4 separate regions of the Homo sapiens genome follow, and regions 1, 2 and 4 are each linked to region 3. The links are contacts of gene promoters, found by promoter capture Hi-C in human tissues and cell types (Jung and others, 2019). All regions are on one chromosome and are shown on one strand. Each heading gives the region's core, a stretch centred on a gene start or on the middle of the fragment in contact. The rest is flanking DNA. Distances are from core to core; before and after follow the strand shown.

What was found. The method cuts DNA at HindIII sites, captures the fragments that hold promoters and counts their contacts. A contact is called where the count stands out against the background at its distance.
Region 1: a fragment that was not itself captured here is called in contact with the fragment with the promoter of RDH12 in region 3 in 2 of the 25 tissues and cell types used here (dorsolateral prefrontal cortex and hippocampus).
Region 2: a fragment that was not itself captured here is called in contact with the fragment with the promoter of RDH12 in region 3 in 1 of the 25 tissues and cell types used here (lymphoblastoid cells).
Region 4: a fragment that was not itself captured here is called in contact with the fragment with the promoter of RDH12 in region 3 in 1 of the 25 tissues and cell types used here (hippocampus).

The regions. Positions count from the first base shown.
Region 1 is chr14:67,512,224-67,514,923 of GRCh38, reverse strand. It overlaps a transcript of GPHN not described here and a transcript of TMEM229B not described here. Among named protein-coding and RNA genes, the nearest start is that of PLEKHH1, 20 kb to the left of the region's middle. The HindIII fragment of the contact is 8,257 bases long and covers 1-2,700 here.
Region 2 is chr14:67,485,782-67,488,755 of GRCh38, reverse strand. It overlaps TMEM229B (transmembrane protein 229B), which reads left to right and starts at 35. Exons shown (of 3, transcript NM_001348543.2): 1 at 35-248; 2 at 1,584-1,756. It also overlaps a transcript of GPHN not described here. RefSeq lists enhancers at 1-323, 1-460, 624-693. The HindIII fragment of the contact is 6,771 bases long and covers 1-2,974 here.
Region 3 is chr14:67,700,354-67,703,302 of GRCh38, reverse strand. RDH12 (retinol dehydrogenase 12) reads right to left here and starts at 1,417. Exons shown (of 9, transcript NM_152443.3): 1 at 1,368-1,417. It also overlaps a transcript of GPHN not described here. The HindIII fragment of the contact is 5,475 bases long and covers 1-2,949 here.
Region 4 is chr14:67,466,607-67,469,487 of GRCh38, reverse strand. It overlaps LOC105370542 (a long non-coding RNA gene), which reads left to right and starts at 772. Exons shown (of 3, transcript XR_007064213.1): 1 at 772-1,047; 2 at 1,623-2,881. It also overlaps a transcript of GPHN not described here. The HindIII fragment of the contact is 4,920 bases long and covers 1-2,881 here.

The DNA of each region.
Region 1 (2,700 bases), core at 181-2,680, 190 kb after region 3:
TTCGGTTTCGAGGCTGCTGCCCCGGTTCGAGATCCAGCCGCAGATTAGATAGGTGGTGCGCCCGGGGCTTGGATTCCCTGCGGGGGATGGGCGCACAGGGGGGCGTGTTGGGGAAGGGGGTGCGCGTTGGCAACTTTCCCTGCCTGAAACAAAGGGGTGTCAGGGGGAAGCGAGGGGCAGCGGTAGGTTGACACCTCCTCTTCTTCCGGGCGGAGAGCACCCAGGAGGCCACCTCAGCAGGGTGGAGGGGGGTGACAGTCTGGGTGGAAGCTGGGGAGCCAGGGCTTGGGAGTGGAAACCAAGGACCCTCCTGAATTAGAGGCTGAGGACTTTCCAGAAGGGAAGGGAACGCTGCCAAAATGACCCCGCCGCCTTCTCCCCAGGGTGCATGGAAAAACTGGGTGATGGACCCCACACCTAGGCGCCCTCCACTCCCCAGGTCCGTGTCCTGGGGCCCAGCCCAGCCCCCTGGCTGCCAGCTCTTCACCTGCCCTCCCTGATCTCTGGTCCTCCGTGAGAGATGCCTGGCTGGGATGGGGAGTGTTACAGCCCGGTTCCTGGCAAGGGCAGGGAGACATTGGCCTCTTTCCCAGGTATCTTCCTTTCCCTCTTTCTATGCTCAGTCAGAAACGGACCCCTTTCCCTTCCTTCCCGGGGACTGTCTCTTTTCTTTCCCCAGGGTTTCCCTGGGGGTGTTTGGCTGCCTTAGGTACAGAGCTTGGAGATAGGAGGGCAGAGTGTTCGGGCACTGCTCAAGGCTCTCCCTGGAGGGAAAGAGCAGGACCCCAGGCAGCTTTCTGCTGGTGTAACCTTGGGGGCTCTGCTCACCAATTCTCATGTGTTCTCAGCACCCTAGTAATAAGTGAGCTATTGCTGTGGCTATCAGCCTTGGGTAATTGAGAGGCCTGGGTTTCTCTCTGCTGTACCAGGAAGAGGGATCAAGGGAGGGCCAAGCAACCTGCCTTGGGGGTGGTACAGTGTCTTTCTCTCTAGAAAACAAATGGGCCAGGTTCCAGGTCCCCAGTGCTTGGCCTTATGTCTCCAGGAACAAGGTGCCTTCAGTTCTGAGCTGGCTTACATGTGACCACCAGCTCCTATCCTGTGGCAGGATAGCCCTTTGGGAGCTCAGATTTTTTTCCCTGTTTGGAAGACAGATACATCTGCTTCCCTGTGAGACAGAAGGCACTGGAGGGCCCTAGACTGGTGGAGGACTCTCCCGCCTGCCTGTGTGAATGACCTAATGATACAAGGATACAAGTAGGTTGGGCCAGGGTGGGCCTGTCAGGACACTTTGCTCTAGAGACACTTTGCTCAGGGGTGTGCTGAGATGACACTTAGCCCCCATCAGGGGCTTTGTGTTTGGAGACAGATACAGGCAACTGGGGACACAGCATGGCAGGCGTTGGGTGGGGACAACAGGCTTTTTTAGTGTTGATTTTGGCCACTTATAGGTACAGGAGCAACGGAGGTTCCAGGACCAATAAGGAGTAGCAGGAGAAAACTGAGTCCCCTGAGCTATAGATTTGTGGCCCTGCAATTTGTGGCTAAAGTCAGATGCAGGTACTGCACCAGAGAAGCACAGCTAGGCCCACTTCTATGGACCTTCCCATTCTAACAGGCAGGCAGGATTGATTTCACTCAATTCCCCACTGGAGCGGCTTTATTGGTTTGTCCCAAGCTATTTATTCGGAGCTGAGGATAATGATATGGAGGCCTGACCTCCGAGCCTCCAGTGGTTAGAGGATGGGCTTTTCCGTGGCATGTTCCTCAAATGTACTGACCTTAAGATGGGAAATTGATACTCTCCTAACTTCCTGTTTTGAAGTGATGAGGCATGAATTTTTACATTTATAAAGTGATTTAAGACCCTCAAGTCCTTGAATGAAAGATATTAAATGAGTTAGTGAGCCTTATACTGTGTTTATTTCGGTTGTATCAGATTTACATATTGTTTCTAAAGGGAAAGGTGTCATTTTACAGGAAGGGACCAAATTACAGCTTTTGTGATAGGCAAAGCTCAGTGTTGGTTTTAAAAGTGTAGTTTTTATCAGAAAAGCTCTCGCTGCAGCACTTAGGCAGCAAGCTTTTTTTTCTGCTTACCTCCCAGGATGGCTTGGAGCTCCTTCCTGGTGGGCTTTTTCCTGGTGTACAGTTTCCAGCTAGAATGTTAGTGACTGTCACCTTCCAGTTTCTGAGGAGGGTCTCCGATGATGTTGGGGACTCTGATGTCATAAGGAAAGACCTGGGTAAGGGCAGTAGAGTGAGGCAGCTTGGTCTTATCGGCAACTGTATCAGATCTGGCTGTCCTTGAGGGGAGGGAAGGGATAGCTAACCCTCCCAGAGCCTGGCTGTTTTCAAGTTTGTATGCTTTTACTTTTCTCCTCCCCCATCTCCCTACCTCCCATATACAGACAAGGTGGTCTGGGTGTATTTTTGAATTGCAGGAACATTCCTTTTAAGGCAAGGATAATTTCTGACCTGGCAAAGCCTTAGCTCCCTTTGTGGCAACACCTGGCTAAGGAGGGAATATCAGACAGGATTCTCATGTTCTGAGCTGAGGAATTTCAGCCTCTATTGGCCAGATCTTCTTCTTACTCTACATCACTTCTCAGAAATCAGGCTTTGTATTTGAAAAGTAAAGTGTAAGCTGATTTCTAGGGAAGGGGTAGGAGGGGGGCACTTTTGGTTTGGTTCCCCTTA
Region 2 (2,974 bases), core at 93-2,592, 210 kb after region 3:
GCAGGATGTGGTCTTTGGTTTCTGTTTCTGTTTTAGTTCTGACTTGTGCCGTGGATGTGGCTGAGGGCCTAGGGTGGGGAGAAGTCTCCACAGGTGGGATTGAACTCCCCAGGCACATGGTCCTTGTGGTGCTGGTGGAGAGAGAGTCCCAGAGGGTTCGGACATGCTCCGTTAAAACCTTTTCCTCAAGGTGATAGGTACGTGTCAAGGTGACCCCTGTCCGCCATCCGGCAGGCTGGAAGAAGCCGGTAAGATGGACAGATCAGGGAGGGTTGGAGGGTCCCGTTTGTGAAGGAGCTGGGGAGGGGGAGGCAAGGCTGAGCACAGCAGCCCACTGTGATGCTCTCAGTGCAGAGGCCCCGGGGGGAGACCCAGGGGGGCACCCCCCAAAACCACACCATACAGTGAGTTTCAGTTCCCCCACTCCTGCCCTTTCACTTCTCCTCGGCTGCCTGGCTGCCTCACAGGTTGTCAGCTTGAGCAAGGGCCCAAGCGGCCTCTACTCAGAGACCCTGGTGGTCAGAGGGGAGTGGGGAAGGTGGACATGGGCATCAGCACAGACCAGCACCTCTGGTCCATCCTGCCTGGTCATCCACAGGGGAGTGCCAGCTCCCACCCCCAGCCACATACTGTTCTCAGCTTCTGAGTGGCTGGGCTGTCCCAGAGGGCCATGCTGGGCCTGAGTGCTGTCCTTGGGCATATGCAGATGGTGTTGTATCCAGGGGGTTTTCAGGGAAGCTTTAGCACTTTCATATTAAAACAAAAAATGTTGGAATCTCCATTAAATAGTCAAGTCTTAGGGATAGTAGTAAAAACATGGCTGTACATGGCTGGCCAGGCACAGTGGCTCACGCCTATAATCCTAGCACTTTGGGAGGCTGAGGTGGGAGGGTTGGCCAAGAGCTTGAGACCAGCCTGGTCAACATAGCAAGACCCGTCTCTACTTGATTTTTTTTTTTAAAGTACATGGCAAAGGGCATTATAAAGTAAGATTTGTATTAGCTTGTAGCTGGTTACTGATGTTCATAGGAAGGGCCTCAACCATAATAATGGTGAAATAATAAAATGAGATGAATAAATATTAGAGAGGTAGAATAGTACGTAGAAAGGTTTAGCACACATTTTGTTTTTCTGCACGAGTGGTTGTTCTCTGCTTTCAAAGTGCTGAAACGAATGTCCTACATTGTCTGCCTTCCATGAGGTTCTGACCGCCCTTGAGAACAGATGTACCCACTACAGGGTGAAGGTGAGAATGTAATTTGAAGCTGAATGAGAATGGAGCTGGATTCTAAAATTATATCCCCTCTCAGATTCACAAGTGTTCACACATTTAGGCAAGAAGCCCTAAGTCCTAACCCTGGACATGTGGATTGTCCAGGACCATCCCAGACTTTTGTGGCTGGATTAATCAGACCTGAGCAAACTGGATGCAAAGAGGAGGGGGTAGGTTCCGGGAAGGGGCCCTGGTGGCCAGGGTGGGATGAGTGTCTGGTGCTGAGCCCAGAGCCCAGGCCCTTGCAATGTTTTTCTTGGATCTGCTGGGGGCAGTTTAAGCTAATAAAAGCCTCCTCTTTTATTCCCAGGGACACATGGAAGCTGCCAGCCCCCCAGCCAAGGATCAGCTGAGCCCTAGGGCTGATGCTTGCCTACGTTGCTGAGAATGGCACTGAGGCCCAGCCAACAAAGGTTAACCCAGGACACTCCTGGACAGTGATCCTGATGTCTGTTGTGAGCTGCACACTCAAGGGTGTGATAAGTGAGTATGTTACAAGCACCCAGGGGATCACCAGCCCAGCGATCCTGCCTGCTCGGCACCTCATCAGCATGGGCACGAGTCTGGAGGTTCTAGTTCTGAGTCTGTTCCCCATCCAAGGTCCTGTCACAGGGCAATGGGAGGGGAATGTCAAGCAATATTGGGCCATCACATGCGGGAGCCGTCTTATGGCCACATGGCCTCTAAAATCCAGGCCAGACCCAGTGTATTAGTTTGTTTTCGTGCTGCTGATAAAGACATACGTAAGAGTGGAAAATGTATACAGAAAAAGAGGGTTAATTCCACGTGTCTGGGGAAGCCTCACAATCATGGTGGAAGGCAAGGGGAAGCAAGTCACATATTACAAGGTTGGTAGCAAGCAGAAAGAGAGCTTGTGCAGGGAAACTCTCCCTTATAAAACCATCAGATCAGCCGGGCACTGTGGCTCACGCCTGTAATCCCAGCACTTTGGGAGGCCGAGGTGGGTGGATCGCAAGGTCAACAGATTGAGACCATCCTGGCCAACATGGTGAAACCCCATCTGTACTAAAAATACAAAAATTAGCTGGGCATTGTGGCATGCACCTGTGGTCCCAGCTATTCAGGAGGCTGAGGCAGGAGAATCGCTTGAACCTGGGAGGCAGAGGTTGCAGTGAGCCAAGATCGTGCCATTGCACCCCAGCCTGGCAACAGAGCAAGACTCTGTCTCAAAACAAAACAAAACAAAAACCCATCAGATCTCATGAGATTTATTCACTATCACAAGAACAGCATGAGAAAGACCTGGCCCCATGATTCAATTACCTCCCACCCAGTTCCTCCCACAACATGGTGGAAATTCAAGATGAGATTTGGGTGAGGACACAGCCAAACCATATCATTCAGATTGTCTGGCGTGAGTGAAGCGAGCACTCACACCTGGGAAACAGCATCTACTTTGGCCGTCAGGCTTCAGATCTGTGCAGTGAGGACCATGCATCACCTGGGACTGGACTCTGCCCAGAAGCCATGAGCAATGCATGTGCTGCTGGTCTAGGAGGCCTGGAGTAGGGCATCCAGGGCCCTGGGAGGTGGGGGGATTTGTGAGCCTTAGCTGCCATAAGAGTGACCACCAGGGGATCTGGAGGAGCATGTCCTCTTGCTTTTGTCACATATCAGCAGCAGCATCTCCTCCTCAGCGAGACAAGCTCGAGGTAGGGTGAGAGGCTCCTAACTGCACAG
Region 3 (2,949 bases), core at 168-2,667:
CCTTACCCAAAAATTTTGGCTCACAGCCTTCATTAGATTACCTATTGGGACAAATAAAATTTAGCCATGTGAACTAACAGGTCCCAATTTTTTCCAAAAATAATTTAGATCCAACTATCTTTTATAAACTGGTGAGTTTGTATTACTATCTCATGACTAAAATTCTAAAATGAAAACTATAAGGGCCAGATGAGGTGACTCATGCCAGCAGTCCCAGCACTTTGGGAGGCCAAGGTAGGAGGATCATTTGCGCCCAGGAGCTCAAGACCAGCCCTGGCAACATAGTGAGACTCTGACTCTACAAAAAAAAAACTTTTTTAAGTTAGCTGGGCATGGCGGCACGCACCTGTAGTCCCAGGTACTCAGGAGGCTGAGGTGGGAGAATCACTTGAGCCTGGGAGGTCCAGGCTGCAGTGAGCCATGGTCATACCACTGCTCTCTACCCTGGGCAACAGAGTGAGGCCCTGTTTCAAAAGACAAATCAAAAAATAAAGGTATAAGATCTCTATTTGTGCATATATATGTGTGTTTAGATGTGTTTACATATATACATGTAATATGTTATATGTTGTATCTACATGATACCCAATTGACTTATAGATAAATGAGCACTCATAAATTAGTAAGCCCAAAGGTTTTCCAAGTTCACATGACTTAAGTAATTCTTTAATAAATAAACTGGCTTTAAAATTATTAGTAAAATAAATATTAAAATGTCTTCAAAATTGTCAACATACATATTTGCCTAGATTTATGGTCAGATTTATACTTGTCTTATTAAATATTTTACAGGGTCAGGATTTGGCACAAAGGTAAAAAACTATGAACCCAGCCAAAACCAAAATAATCTTTGTGTGATTTTTTTTATAAGTAAGACTAATTTAATATTGTTGGTTTAAGAAATACAGCTAAACCTTCTGAGTTATCAACAAAATACCCATGTATTTAACTTTAAATTTCTTGCTTAGGTAAATATCTGACATTCACAGGCTATAAAAATGGTTAATAGAAAAAAACTTAAAAAACTGAGCACAGGCCAGGCATGGTGGCTCATGTGTGTAATCCTAGCACTTTGGGACCCTAAGGTGGGAGAATCACTTGAGCTCAGGAGTTTGAGACCAGCCTGGGCAACATAATGAGATCTCATCTCCATTTAAAAAATATATATATATTAAATTTTTAAAAAAGCTGGGCACAGTGGTTCATGACTGTTATCCTAATGCTTTAGGAGGCCAAGGCAGGTGGATCATTTGAGATCAGGAGTTCAAGACAAGCCTAAGCAACATAGTGAGACACTGTCTCTACAACACAGTGAGATACTGTCTCTACAAAAATTTTGAAAATTAGTCTGGCATGGTGGCACTTACCTGTAGTCCTGGCCACTCAGGAAGCTGAGAAGGGAGGATTGCTTGTGCCCAGGAGTTGAGGTTACGATGAGCTGATCATGCCACTGCATGATAATAATTTATTACATGGTAAATTATTTTCCTAAAGCAAAATGACAGGTTAATTATAAAAGAGAAAGGGTAGGGCAAAACAAAAGTTCAAACATGTCATAAATAGTCTACAGAAATCATAATAGGCCTGGCGTGGTGACTCATGCCTGTAATCCCAGCACTTTGGGAGGCTGAAGTGGGCGGATCACAAGGTCAGGAGTTCGAGACCAGCACAGCCAAAATGGTGAAACCTCATCTCTACTAAAAATACAAAAAGTAGCCAGGTATGGTGGCGCATGCCTGTAGTCCCAGCTACTCGGGAGGCTGAGGCGGGAGAATCACTTGAACCTGGAATGCGGAGTTTGCAGTGAGCCAAGATAGTGACACTGTACTCCAGCCTGGGCAACAGACTCCATCTCAAAAAAAAAAAAAAAAAAAAAAGAAATTATAATAAAGTTCTTTAAAATTTTTTTAAATGTATATGTGATTAAGTTGGCTATAATCAAAAAAAAGTTATAAGTGTTTCTAAAGATTGAGATTTTGGTCCTCTATGTTAAAATAACATTGTCTTAAAGTATAAATTTGCTCTTAGTGAATTACAAGAGCTTTTGATTTTAAATTCTACAATCTATTTCTTTTCTAAAACTTCTCAAATTTATATCTCAAAAAATTCTACTTGTGCTATACCTCGCTGCACATGATTCCCAAGTCATGAATCGTTGTTGTTCGTTCTTTATACCCTTAAAAAGATACATGTTTTTCTTGGTTGAAATGATAATCCTCTCCTTCAACCTTTTTGTCAACTTCTGTAATCTTTGACTTTTTTTTTTTTTTTTTTTTTTGAGATGAAATTTTGCTCTTGTCACCCAGGCTGGAGTGCAGTGGCAAGATCTCCGCTTACTGCAACCTCCGCCTCCCAGGTTCAAGTGATTCTCCTGCCTCAGCCTCCGAGTAGCTGGGATTAGAGGCATTCGCCGCCGTGCCCAGCTAATTTTTGTATTTTTAGTAGAGACAGAGTTTCATCATTCTAGCCAGCCTGGTCTTAAACTCCTGACCTCAGCTGATCCACCCGCCTCGGCCTCCCGAAGTGCTGGGATTGCAGGCATGAGTCACCATGCCCAGCCAACTTCTGTAATTTTTTTTTTTTTTTTTGAGATGGAGTCTTGCTGTGTCACCCAGGCTGGAGTGCAGTGCCGCGATCTAGGCTCACTGCAAGCTCCGCCTCCCAGGTTCACGCCATTCTCCTGCCTCAGCCTCCCGAGTAGCTGGGACTACAGGCGCCCGCCACCACGCCCGGCTAATTTTTTGTATTTTTAGTAGAGACGGGGTTTCATCGTGTTAGCCAGGATGGTCTCGATCTCCTGACCTCGTGATCTGCCCACCTCGGCCTCCCAAAGTGCTGGGATTACAGGCGTGAGCTACTGTGCCCGGCCTTCTGTAATCTTTTTCTCTGGTTCTAACTCTGGTGTGGCCTGATGCTAAAATGTTTATCTTAAAGCTCTGGAACAAAACC
Region 4 (2,881 bases), core at 277-2,776, 230 kb after region 3:
ATACAGAGACCACCATCTCTACAAAAAAAAAAAAAAAAAAAAAAAAAGCCAGGCATGGTGGCACACACTTATAATTCCAGATACTCAGGAGCCTGAATCAGGAGGATCACGTGAGCCCAGGATTTGGAGGTTGCAGTGAGCTATGATTGCACCACTGTATTCTGGGTGACAGTGAGACCCTGTCTTGAAGTTGCTCAGTAATTTCAGCTAAACGCAAATGGCATGGGCCCCCTGTCACAGCTGGGTTATAGAACACCCACTGCTTTTCTGGATGGAGTAGACAGTGTGCTTTCTAAATCATCGGGAGGGCCCTCTGCCTCCCTCACTTGAAGGTTTTCATTTCTTTGGCTGAAAGCTTTTTCCCTTATGAAAATGAGATAGCATAAATCCCCAGCAGTCATTTACATGTTAGCATAAACAAATATACAAGGTAGTTCTCTCAGAACAAGATTTTATAGAAAGAGGCAAGCAAAATGAAACAGGGTCTCCTTTATGGAGCTTCAGAGAAGAGGCAAGAGGCAGGTCCCCGAGCGAGAAGACTGAGGGGGCCCAAGACCCTTTTTTTTTTAAAAAAAATTATTATTATTATTTTTGAGACAGAATCTCACTCTATTACCCAGACTGGAGTGCAGTGGTGCAATCCCAGCTCACTGCAACCTCCGCCTCCCAGGTTTAAGTGATTTTCCTGCCTCAGCCTCCCAAGTAGCTGGGATTACAGGTGCATGCCACCAGGCCCGGCTAATTTTTGTATTTTTTAGTAGAGACGGGGTTTTGCCATGTTGGCCAGGCTGGTCTTGAACCCCTGACCTCAGGTGATCCACCCGCCTCGGCCTCCCAAAGTGCCAGCTACTTCCCTACTCTAGTCAGTGGGCGCCTGCCTTTCTCGACACTTTCCTTCCTCACCTCCTCCACCCCTCCCTCACCCAATCCAAAGGGCACTAACAACACTAGGTGGAGAGAAATGCCCCAGGAGAGCTAACACTAAGGACTTCATCCACGTCTTCTGAAGTCTGCCTGGACTTTGTGAAAGCCTAATGTTTACTGACAGTGAGTACATGACTGTAGTCTTGCCTGGTCTTCCTGGGTGCCTGTCTCAGAAGGCTGCAATGTTTAGACTGCCCCGGTACAACCAAGGGAGGGAAACAGAGGAAAAAGGAGTGACTGATTCCTCATACAGCAGGTTAGAGGAGCCAGGTCTTACAAATTGAAACACTGGCCAGGTGCGGTGGCTCAAGCCTATGATCCCAGCACTCTGGGAGCCCGAGGCGGGTGGATCACCTGAGGTCAGGAGTTAGAGACCAGCGTGGCCAACATGGTGAAACCCCATCTCTACTAAAAATCCAAAAATTAGCTGGGTGTGGTAGCGTATGCCTGTAATCCCAGCTACTCGGGAGGCTGAGGCAGGACAATCGCTTGAACCCAGGAGGCAGAGGTTGCAGTGAGCCGAGATCGCACCATTGCACTCTAGCCTGGGTGACAGAGCAAGACTCCACCTTAAAAAAAAAAAAATTGAAATAGCAGTTGTGGTTCCCAGGCTAGCCTCAAGACTGCCAGTACCGTGACTGCGGCCAGGCACTGAACTTTGGGCCCTGCATGCATGCTCTCATTTCTTCCCATTTCAGATGGCCACCATTATTTCTGTTTTATGGGAGAGGTCTGTTGGCAAAGAGTCGGCCACCCAGATTTACCACATTTCTCTGCAGAACACTCTTTTGTTCAATATAAGCAGAGACCTTCCACCGGGGGCAGGATTTGTGGTGAGTCCAATACCCCTTTGTACTTGATGAGTTTCTGGATGCCTTTTGAGTCCAGCTCATGTGGGTGCTATTTGCAGTTAAATTAAAATGTTTGGGAATGGGATGGAAGGGAGAGAGAGGGAGTTATAAGAAAGGAGGTGTAGAATGCTGTCTTAGCCAAGACTTAAGACAATTGGCACAAAGATCCCGCCTAGTGGAGGAGAGCTGTGAAATTGTGGCCTCTACCAATGCTGAGTTTAGCCTTGATACCCTCTCCCCTCCCTCCCTCCTTCCCACCCACAGCCTTCTTTTTGCCCTGGGCCTTTTCTCTTTCATCCTATTTCCTTGTCTTGGCATGAAACCTGGGCCCCTGGCTGTCAGTACCTTCAGAGTGTTTGAAACTACCAGCTGAAACCTTTCTCCTAACAAGATAAGAACCTTCTGCTGGTGCCTTCTGAAAACCCAGATAGGACTGAGAACTGACCTGTTTAACTCATCAACTCCTTATTAGATACCTGCAGTGAGCCAAGGACCAGGCTAGTTCCTGTGATGCTGAAGATGTTGAAGGGAAGCCCATAACATTACAACGTTGACCAATCCTCCAGAAAAGAAGCTCTAACAGAGGACCCTGGCTGTCTACGGGGTTGGGTAAGGATTCTTCCAGGAAGAGACACTTTTCACACACTCAAAGGTTGATAGGTTGATTACTGATACTTTCAGAGATAGGCTGGAGTCTTTTTTTTTTTTTTTTTTTTTTGAGATTGGGTCCCCCTCTGTCGCCCAGGCTGGAGTGCAGTGGCGCGATCTCGGCTCACTGCAACCTCCACCTCCCGGGTTCAGGTGATTCTCCTGCCTCAGCCTCCTGAGTAGCTGGGATTACAGGCCCGTGCCACCATGCTCGGCTAATTATTTTGTATTTTTAATAGAGATGGGGTTTTGCCATGTTGGCCAGGCTAGTCTTGAGCTCCTGACCTCAGGTGATCCACCTGCCTTGGCCTCCCAACATGTTGAGATTACAGGGGTGAGCCACTGTGCCTGGCCCAGGCTGGAATCTTATTGTCCAGAAGTGCAGACATTTACTGTGCCCTGCAAGGTGCCTAGCTGGGTACAGTGCCGAACAAAGGAAGCACGTAGTGAGTGCTTTA